Linked DNA regions of Homo sapiens: region 1 is linked to region 2. Evidence: promoter capture Hi-C in human tissues and cell types (Jung and others, 2019). All regions are on one chromosome and are shown on one strand. Each heading gives the region's core, a stretch centred on a gene start or on the middle of the fragment in contact. The rest is flanking DNA. Distances are from core to core; before and after follow the strand shown.

Region 1 (5,958 bases), core at 282-2,781, 810 kb after region 2:
TGTCCAGCAGAAGTGTTTTGTGTATACATCCCATTTTGTTGTACAGAACACTAAAAAGACATACACTACAGGGTCAAAACTTATTAAAGTAATTTTTACTACTTCATCAAGGATGTACTTAAGTGAAACTGGCAAATTTTTTAACTGGAAATGAGTGGCAGTGAGGGCTACAAGGATATAGTTTGCTGCTGCTGCCTTGGTAAGTGCTAAGATGCCAACAGTTTGACCTACCATTGTCTTTGTATCATCAGTGCAAATGCCAAAGAAGTGAAAAGGGCAAGTACTGCCTTAGTATTATTATAAAAATGGTTTTGACCTTGCTGAAAAGACAATAATGGAGGAAAGAAATTGCTTTTAGTTCAAATAAGTTAAAGAAGACTCCATGATAAAGATCAATGTAATATGCATGCCCTACTTTATTTTTCTTTACCTGCTTTTTTCTATAAAAATAAAAGTAGGAAAGCAATTAGCATGTTAAAAATTATTTAACCATGTTACTTTTAAAATCATTCTTTGATTCAGCAATTATTTATTAACTATTTTGCATAAGTTATTTTTGTTGTTGATAAGTGGGCAATATGTAATGTTTAGAATAATGATCATGCCAATAAAGCATCTGTGCCCCCACTATAAAGCACTGCTATGTGCTGGGCACTGTGTTTATGTGCTTTTAAATGCATTCACGGAATCTTCATGGTAACCTTAGGAGGTAGGTTTTATAGAAAGTTAACTGGAATTAGTGCCAGCTCACAATTTTTATATAACTAGATAAATTACTTAACTTATTTGGATTTCAGTTTTCTCAAGTATAAAATACGAAGCTGAGACATATCTTCAGATGCTTAACCAGGCTTAAAATTCATTAAATAAACATATATTTCACAGCAGGATAACCCTTTATTGACACATTATCAGAATACTCTGAATTTTATTAGGAAGCCATAAAAACAATTACCAAATCATTAACATAAACTTTTTGAAACTTTATGTCCCTTTCATTTTAAAATTCGTTGAGTCAATACATTTTTCATAACACTTAATCCTTTACTGACACATGATCAGAACACTGAACACTTGACCAAAGACCTAATGATAGATGTGAACATAATGTAAACATGAAGGGATATAGTCACTATTGTAGCGGAATAAAAAATAATACAAAAGCGCAAAGAACAAGAGTCAGGAAAGGTCAAGAAGAGCATCAATAAAGCAGCAGTGTTTTAGTTTGTTCATTAGTTCAACAGATGTCTTATATGCCTTTGTTATGCCCTGTAAAGCTTGGAATTTAGACTACTGGAGGGAACAAAATGATGTCCTTGCCCTCATGGAGCTTACATTTTAGTGGGGGAGTGTGGTAGGTAGGATAGTGGCCTCCCAAATATGTCCATGTCCTAATCCCTAAAACCTGTGAATATGTTACATTACTTAAAAAAAGATTATTAAGTAGCAAAGGAATAGGGAGATTACTTCGGGTTATGTGGCTAGGCAAAATGCAATGTTAAAAGTGGAAGCTGGAGTTTGAAGAAGGGTCAGTGGCAGAATGATGCGACATGAGAAAGTTTCAACTGGCCATTTCTGGCTTTGAAGATGGAAGGGGCCATGTGCCAAGGAATGCAGCAGCCTCTACAAGCTGGAAAAGGCAGGAAAGTGGATTCTCCCCTAGAGTCTCCAGAAAGAACACAGTTCTGCCAACATCTTGATTTTAGTCCAGTGAGACCCATATTGGGCATCTAATTGTGAAATAATAAATGTATGCTATTTTAAGCCTCTTAGGGATATGTCAGTTTGTTACATCAACAATAGAAAACTAATACAGAGTAAAAGAAAGTAAACAAGTAACTAAACAAGATAATTACAAACTACGATGGATGCTTTGAAGGAAATAGGATGATGTGAAAGAGTAAAGGATAAAGCATGTTGGTTTAGGTGATCATGGAAGTCTTCTTTGGAACTATGACACTGGAGTGGAAAAGAAAGACCCAGCTGTGTGGAGTTGGAAACAGAATCTCAGGCCAAGGGAAAGGCAAGTGTAGGGGCATGGAGTAGAGAAGGCTTGCCATTTACAAAGAACAAAAACAGGTCATTTAGCGAGAATGAATAGAATAGTGGAAAAGGTGCAGGCCCAAAAATGTGGAGCCTTGCAGGAATGATGGAACAATGGAAAGCCATTGAAAGGTTTTAAGAAGGAGAGTGATACATTTTGCTTTACATTTTTGAAAGATCACCCCGGCTGCTGTGTGGTAAATGGAAACAAGGGACCAATGACATGGTATTGTAGTCCTGAGGAGGAAGTTTACAGGCGGAAGCAAACTAGTGGCATTGGTGCCTGGAGAGGATTGTTGATGATAGACGGGATATGAGTTCCAAAAGATGAGTAGGAATTTGCCCCTAGAGAAGAGGAAGAATACATAGCAGAAGCATGAAAGTTCAGGATGTCTGGGAAATTGAATATACTTTGCAGAACAGTAGCAAGTGAAGATGAAGAGATTGTTTAAGCGATAATGTATGCAGTCGGGAGACCCTTATTCGCCATGTATGGGAGTTTGGAATTTATGGCATATGCAATGGAGAGCCATCTGAAATTTCGAATCAAGAGAACAAAACAATCTCTTGACCTGAAGTTTTGTGATTATTATGTATGTCCTTCATTTTCATTCTGAAGTAAAGGAGAATAATAAGGGTGCTTTAAGTTTTATCATCTTAGATTCTGAGAAGTTCAGAAAGATTTGATTAAGTACTTGTCAATGAAGTCTTTAATAATTCATTGGGAACCACACTTTTATTCTGTTTTGTTTTTTTGTAAGGACTTTTTTTTCATTTATGGGCTCTACTCTTCTGCTGTCTTTGGAGAGACAGCACAGTAACCTGTTCAGAGCATGTCCGGAGCCACATGGCCTAGGGTACAGTCCTGGTTACCAGTACTAACTGGTCAACCTTTGGCAAGTTATGTAATCTAAGTCTTAGTTTCATTGTCTATAAAATAAGGATAATAAAAATTCTTCAAGTGGCTTCTGTAAGGATTAATGGATTCAGTGCATATAAAGCACTGAATATGTAATAAGCACTTTGTGGATCAGGGTTGAAGCAGGGTGCAGAAGTATACGAGGAGCATTGGTTGTAAGCTTTTCTATATATCAGTAGTAGAAATGTGACAGGTCATAATTTCTTTAAAGTACGTTTAAAATACCTATTTCCCACTTCATTTTTATATATGGTATTAAATTTTCTATTTGTTTGTGTTTTCCAAGAATGTCCACTTCTTTCATCACAAAGCCCACTTATTCTCCAAAAAGTTTATATAAGAAAATGGGTAGTTAGTTTGCATGATCTTCTGCTTTATTGGATATTATTTATTTTCTGGAATAAGTTATGTCCACAGATGATTTTAATTCACACTGCTACTCAGGTAACTTAGGTAAAACAAAACATCAGGATTTTTTGGTACTACAGTTCAAATTTATTTAACTTCCCAACAATATATTTTAAATAACAAAGAAACAAAATACTCAATTTTACCTCTGTTGCACATTAGCAAGGCATAAAAGAGAGATTAATATAATTAGGTAAGGATTCTTATAGTATTTATTTTCTGCATCACTTTTAATTTAGCATTTAATTATGTACTATGACATTTCTCTATATAATACTTCATGTATATTACTCATATTTGCAAAGATTACGTATATCTCAGAGGTGGAGACTAGATATTAAATGTCTTCATTCTCCTATCTTCTGAAGCACTTAAGTCAGAGGAACTAAATTATTCATTCTAATTTGACAACTCAAGCTTGTAACATATTATAATGCTTAGAAAAGCTCAGTAAAACTAAACTCTAGTTACCTATAAATTGTTTGTTTTTAATACTTCATCAGGAAATAAATTCCAATTAAAATTTCATTAATTATCCCCCTTGTTCTTTCATGTCTTTCCAATGAAGGAGTAGAAAGACTTTCTTTACAAAACTAGGCTCAGGGAATTAGTGTCCCATGTTGAAATTTGGCTCTCAGGAAAGCTCCCAGAAAGGAAGTCTCCTAGTTGGCAACCAATAAGCCTTACTTAGATTACTATATGTTGTCATTCCCATGGAAGTAAGGGAGGATCCGTCCTCAAACTACATCCTTGGGGTTCATGATCTTTTTCTTTTCACTTTTCCTATGATTTCTCTTCCCATGGTCAGGAGTTTTAAATTACACATACAGCATTACTAGTTTGAAGGAATCTTGGAGAACCAAATAAAATGAATTAGAATGTAATTCTTGTCCTCTTCCTTCATCTTATTTTTCACAACCAGTTCTGCTACTAATCGATAAGCCTCAAAGCCAATCAAAGGAGAATTACCTTCTGGGATTAGTAAATGTCAAAATATTTCTTAAAATTTTTTCATAAGATGAGAAAAGCTGAAAATCATGCCAACTCCTGTGGTTGAAACTATTTAAATAATTGACTGTGTGTTTGGGTGTATGTGAGATACTATAACCTGTACTTTGGGGATGCTCATTGCCCTTGACAAGTGAAAGCGTGCGCTCTCCACGAGGCCTCCCTCCTGGCGTCTGTGCAGTAAGAGAGCAGCTTCCCTCAGCACTAGCTGGAAGGAGAAGTCACTTGTGCTGGTGTTCAGCAAGTATTACCTTCCTTTTCATTTTATATAATGTTATGTAGCCATGAATAGGAAAGGTAAATGTTTTTCATACTTTAAATAGACTACTATCTTTCAAAAATAAGAAAATAGATCTTATTATTGTCTCATAAAACCATAAAATAAAAATTGTTTTATTTCAAAATCCACAGATATTTATTTACAACATAGTATTCATCAACTAATAAATGTCCTTTTTACCTTTCATTATTCTTTAGATTTTATTTCAGTATCCTGATTAGTGTTTTTAATTATACCTCCTATTCACCGTGATAACAAATTCAAATAACATAAAAATGTTAAGGAAGAGAGCTGGGTGCAGTGGCACATACCAGTAATCCTAACACTTTGGAAGGCCAAGCCGGAGGATTGCTTGAGGCCAGGGGCTCAAGACCACCATAGGCAACATAGTGAGACCCTGTCTCTATAAAAAAAAAATTTTCTTTAAATTACCTGGGTGTGGTGGCACAGGCCTTTAGTCCCAGCTACTTGACAGACTAAGGCACAGAGGATCGCTTGAGCCTAGCAGTACACAGGTGCAGTGAGCTACGATCATGCCACTGCGCTCCAGCCTGGGTGACAGAGTGAGACCTCGTGTCTAAAATATACATACATCTATAGAAATATACACATATACATACGTACATACATGCATACATAGAGAGCCAGCAAATATTTTGCCCAATCCCAGTTCAGTTTTCTAAAGTTTGCCACTAGCAACATTATGCTGAAAATTATTTGGCTTTTTCTTTGCACATTTAAAATATATCTTTAAAATTTTTTTAAAGTAATATAAACATTAAAATAATATCAAAGGAATAAGCCAGAAAAACAAGTCACTCCTTTGGTACCTGATTTCCTCATTTGTATGTCCTAGACATCATGAATTGATGTTAAGGCACATGTATAGTATGGATACTATACTGCATCTACTGTATTTTCTGGAAGGATGGAATCAAACTATTTTGGAAGACTTTCTATATCAGTACCAAACAATATATCTTAGATGACTATTAAGGTTTTTTTGTAATTAAAAACAAGTTTTCAGATAAACATATGTATGCATATTTGCATACATGTGTTAATTTGCACGGTGCCAAGAAATTGTTAGATCAACAGGTCGGCATTTTAAATTTTGATAAATATTGCCAAAGTAACACAGCATATAAGAGTGTACTCTTTTATTTAAACCTTGCATATGTCAGGCGTTACTGGGACTTTTTTGCCGATTTACTAAACATCATTTATCTAGGGATTAGTATCTACAGCCAGTGTTCTAGATGAGGGGAACAGTGGTGATCGAAACAGAAAAAATTCCTGT
Region 2 (5,383 bases), core at 14-2,513:
CCTGCTGCCTACTGATTTTCCACAATCTCCTCCCCTCTTAAAATAATGTCTTCCCCAAACACAACAGCCTTGCTGGGATGGGGTGAAGTGAAATTTCTGACAACTACTCGGGATCCTGAACTTGATGTTCTTACATATGTTCATCCCGTGTCATTTTCTGCACTTGCCTGGAAACTTCTCTAGTCATTAGTTTCTCTCCCTGGGGCTGGATTCCTGCATTGAAAGGCTAGGCCCAAAACAGGGATAAGTAGTCATCAGCAAGGCCACCGCACCGAGTAACAAGCAGGGCTTTAAGGTGACTAAGCAATAAGATAAGGAACTGCATTGCATGAGGGGCATGTACATTACAAACGTGAATAGCAAGCGTGGGCAAACCAGGCCCGCTTTTGTATGTAAAGTTTTATTGAAACATAGCTACTCTCATCATTTGGTAATATATTGTTGGTGGCTGATTTCCTGCTGCAGTGGCAGAGTTGAGTAGCTGTGTTAGAGGCTGTATAGACCACAAAGCCTAACATATTATTATCTGGCCCTTTTCAGAGAGATCATGCCAGTCCGTGGTGTACAGCATTGTGCTAAGCTGTGAGGGACAGACAAACGAGGTTTAAGATGCAGAGCTTAGGCTGGGCATGGTGGCCCACACCTGTAATCTCAGCACTTTGTGAGGGTGAAAAGGGCAAATTGCTTGAAGCCAGGAGTTTGAGACCAGCCTGGGCAACAAAGGTAGACCTCTGTCACTACAAAATACACAAAAATTAGCCAGGCATAGTGGTGTGTGACTGTGGTCCCACCTGTTTGGGAGGCTGAGGTGGGAGGATCTTTTAAGGCTGGGAGGTTGAGGCTGTTGTGAGTTGTGATTGTGCCACTGCACTCCAGCCTGGGCAACAGAGTGACATCCTGTTTCAAAAAAAAAAAAAAAGATGCAGAGCTTACAAATAAGGTTGGTTTCCATCCTCTGCCTTAGAATGTTAACTGATCTCAAACAAGTCAAAACAAAACCCGTAGCAATGATAACCCCAAGCATCATGTTCTACATCCTTCAAGAACCTGCCATTGCTGGTTCTCAGGGACAGGTGGCTTCATAAGAGTAATTTAGGTCTTACTGAAAAGGCAGATTCCTGGTGCCTGCCGCAGAGGCTGACTTCTCAGTTGAGTCTGCGGAAGAAACACTGCTCCACTTAGTCGGTGACAGGCAGCTCAGGGGAGCGTCCTGCATCCCCTGAAGCCATGTCTGATTCTAACAAGGCTCGAGTAATCCTTTCCTAGCTCAAGAACCTTTCTTTAGAGTGTTAGAGAAAGAAAAATTCTTAGTCCTTTGTTTCTCACCACCTAGAGATGCTAGAATTCTACTTCTTGGCACTAAAAGCTATATCATCCTGCACGCTTGTGTTCTGAAGCAGGTGCTAACTCTCTTCTGGGCCTTAATACCTCTCGTTTTTTCTCTTTTCCTCTCAACAACTGTCCTCACTACACAACTTGGCCAGGGCCTCCCGTCCAAGTGAGAGCTCTTCTCTAAGGCAACAGTCTGCAAACTTTATCACAAATTCCATTAATAAAGTTAAGCATGTATCCTCTTTAGATGTATATTAAATTATAAATCACACTTCTGTACCTCTGTACTAATATGCTACATAAATTATCAACATACACAAAACTAAAATCTGAAAATGAATGAGAGGTGAAATTAACATTAAAAATTAATTAACAGCACATTTCTTTGCTATAGTTATATTGTTAATTAATAAAATATTGTCAAAGGAGGGCCACAAAAGAAATAAAAAATTTTTATGTATAATTAACATGATTTCATTGTTTTTTAAAAATTTGGCTTAACACTTTGTGACTCAATAAAGAGCTAGTTTGAAGGTCCATTTATTTCTGTGTTCAGATTTAATGACACATTTGAAATGAATTCTCATTGGAATATGTAGATCTCAGTATAAGTTTGTTGTTAGTTGTACCTAACTAATTATTGTATTTTATTAAATTCCATCTGCAAATAATGCAAAGATCTTGTTGAAATCTAGTTTTAAGTTTATATAGTATTACATTGTGTAGATATAACATATTTAGCCAATTCCATATTGACTCACACTTAAGGTATTTTTTTCTTCTATGATAAACATATTACAATTAGTAATCTTGTACATTTGTCATTTGTACATTTGCAAGAATATCTGTAGGATACATTCCTGGAAATTGAATTGCTGGGTTAAGGACTGTAATTTTGTAATTTTGCTAGATATTGCCAAATTGCCTTCCACGTGGGCTTGTATGACGAAGATGGCTAGCATACCCTATTACCAAAGGTTAAGATATTTGCTAATATTAGAGATGAAACATAATTTGTCAGCAAAGTTTCAATTTCAGCTTCCCTTATTTCAAGCTGTCTGAGCATCTTTTCTTATCTTCAGAAGCCATTTGTGGACTTTTTTCTCTCTCTCTCTCTCTTTTTTTTTTTTTTTAATTGAGACAGAGTCTCCCTCTGTTGTCCAGGCTGGAGCTCAGTAGTGTGATCTCGGCTCATTGCAACCTCCACCTCGCAGGTTGAAGCGATTCTCGTGCCTCAGCCTCCCGAGTAGCTGGTATTACAGGCATGTGCCCCCACGCCCAGATAATTTTTGTATTTTTAGTAGAGATGGTGTTTCACCATGTCTGCCAGACTGGTCTCAAACTCCTGATCTCAAGCAATCTGCTCGCCTCAACCTCCCAAAGTGCTGAAATTATAGGCATGATCCACGGCATCTGGCCTGTGTGCTTTTTCTTGTGAATTGTCTATAATACGAGAAAATACATAGGTTTTTCTTCAAACATCTTTTTCAAAGTGCTTTGAAATAGGAATTTTATAGTCAATGAGAAAATAGAGACAGATTGTCTTTTTTTTCAAAAATGCTTGTTTAGCAAGTTTTCGGATACATAGTAAATATACAAAAGCCATTTCTATTCTTATATACTAGGAATCAAAATATTTTAGATTCTTCTAAAATAAAAAATATCATTTACAACAGCACACACAAGAATATGACGTACTTAAATGTAAACCTAACAAAATCTGTGCAGGATATATATTCTGACAACTGTAAGACAGATGAAAAACTAAAGAAGACCTAAGTGGAAAAGAAATACCATGTTCCTGAATTTAAAAATTCTATGTTGTTAAGATTTAATCTATAGATTTAATGGAATTCCAATTAAAATCCCAGAAAATTGTTTTGAAAATATCAATAAGATGATCTTAAAACTTATACGGAAGGGCAAATGGACTACAATAAACAAAACTATTCAGAAAAAGAACAAAATTGAAGGACTCATTCTACATGATTTTAAGACAATATAAAGCTGTAGTAATCAAGAGAGAATGATATTGGTGGGAAGATAGACCCATAGACCAGTGGAACAGAAGAGAGAACCCAGAAATAGATCTATGAATATTTAGTCAACAACATTTTTTATAAAGATGCTAATTAAATTCAATGGAAAAATGATGTTCTTTTCACCAAATGGTACTAAAATAAGACTGTCTATGCTCAAAACACATGTTCAAAACCAACAAAATAAAAGAAGGCATATTGAAGAATACATACCTTATATCTCATATAAAAATTAATCTAAAATGGATCAAAGACATAAAAGTAAAAAATGAAACTATGAAATTCTATAAGTAAACATAGAAAATCAGCAGGACTTGGGTTTGGCAATAACATTTTAGACACAACAACAAAAGCACAATCCATGAAAGAAAAAAAAAACGTTTAGTTGGACTTGATCAAAATTAAAAATGTTTGCTCTTTGAAAGACACTGTTAAGAGAATGAAAAGACTAGCTACAGACTGGAAGAAATATTTATAAATCACATGTCTGATGAAAGCCTTGTATTCAGAATATATAAAGAACTCTTAAAATTTTACCATAAGCAAACATATGACCCAATTAAAAAATGGGCAACTGATTTAAGCAGACGCTTCATCATATAAGAAATCCAAATGACAAATAAGCATATGAAAAGATGATCAATATCATTGTCACCAGGGAAGTATAAATTAAAACCACAATTAGATATCACTTCTCACTGATTAGAATTGCTAAAATCAATCAGACGACACCAAATGATGATGAAGACAGAGAACCGTAAGAATTCCCATTTATCACTGGTGGAAATGCAAAGTGGTACAGTCACTTTGGAAAACGGTTTGGCAGTTTCTTATAAAGTTAAACACAGACTTATATAAATCAACAATCACACGCCTAGGTATTTAATCAAGTGAATCAGAAACTTACGTTCACACAAAAACAAGCTAACCAATGTTTATAGCAACTTTATTCATAATCACTAAAAAATGGAAGCAACCAAGATGACCTTCAACAGGCAAATATATTTAAAAACCGGGATCTAGCCATACAATGGAATACTACTCAGCAATGAAAGGAATGAGCTATTTGATTCCTGCAACAATGTGGATGAATCTTAAATGCATTTTGCTAAATAAAAGAAGCCAGACCCAGAAGACTACATGTTATATAATTCCAGGCGTATGACATTATGGAAAAGGCAAAACTGTGGGGATGGAAAACAGTTCAGTGATTGTCAAAGATTAGAGGAGAAATCAGCTAAAAAGGGACCACACACGTTCTATTTTAGGTCATTGGAACTGTTCTCTATGGTACTGAGGTAGTTGATACACGGCTTCATGAATTTGTCAAAACCCATAGGCGCATACACCACAAAGGGGGAGCTTCATTGTATGCTAATTTAAAAACTCATCCAGGATGTTGAGGGATACCAGGATAGAATTTAATCTGCGACAAAAAGACCTAACTGTATTACAAATGTATGACATACATTTGCTGAAGGAGTATGAAAAGAGCCACTGATCTAGGTAACTTTGGAAAACAGTGTTTTGACTGGATATTTAAAGTCTAAAGACGAAACAATCTGTACATAAACACTGTATTCCAGTTGGTGAATTTCTTTCTCATAGGGGTAAATGTTAACAATTCTTTTTTTTTTTTTTTTTGAGACAGAGTCTCCATCTGTCACCCAGGCTGGCGTCCAGTAGTGAGATCTCGGCTCACTGCACCCTCTGCCTCCCAGGTTCAAGCGATTCTCCTGCCTCAGCCTCCCCAGTAGCTGAGATTACAGGCATGCACTCCCACACCCAGCTAATTTTTGTATTTTTAGTAGAGACGGGGTTTCGTCATGTTATCCAGGCTGGTCTTGAACTCCTGACCTCAGGTGACCCAGCCGCCTCGGCCTCCCAAAGTGCTGGGATTACAGGCATGAACCACCATGCCTGGCCAGTGTCAGCAATTCTGAAACTACTTTACATATAAACAAATGAAGAAAAGCATTGCAGACGATGGGAGCCAGATTTCACACTGTCAG

What was found. Contacts are between HindIII fragments. The study calls those that stand out against the background at their distance.
Region 1: a fragment that was not itself captured here is called in contact with the fragment with the promoter of LYZL2 in region 2 in 2 of the 25 tissues and cell types used here (dorsolateral prefrontal cortex and mesenchymal stem cells).

What each region holds. Positions count from the first base shown.
Region 1 is chr10:31,433,608-31,439,565 of GRCh38, forward strand. The region is part of intron 1 of ZEB1 (zinc finger E-box binding homeobox 1); the gene reads left to right. Among named protein-coding and RNA genes, the nearest start is that of ZEB1, 120 kb to the left of the region's middle. The HindIII fragment of the contact is 3,845 bases long and covers 1-3,454 here.
Region 2 is chr10:30,628,490-30,633,872 of GRCh38, forward strand. It overlaps LYZL2 (lysozyme like 2), which reads right to left and starts at 1,264. Exons shown (of 5, transcript NM_183058.3): 1 at 1,104-1,264. The HindIII fragment of the contact is 10,435 bases long and covers 1-5,383 here.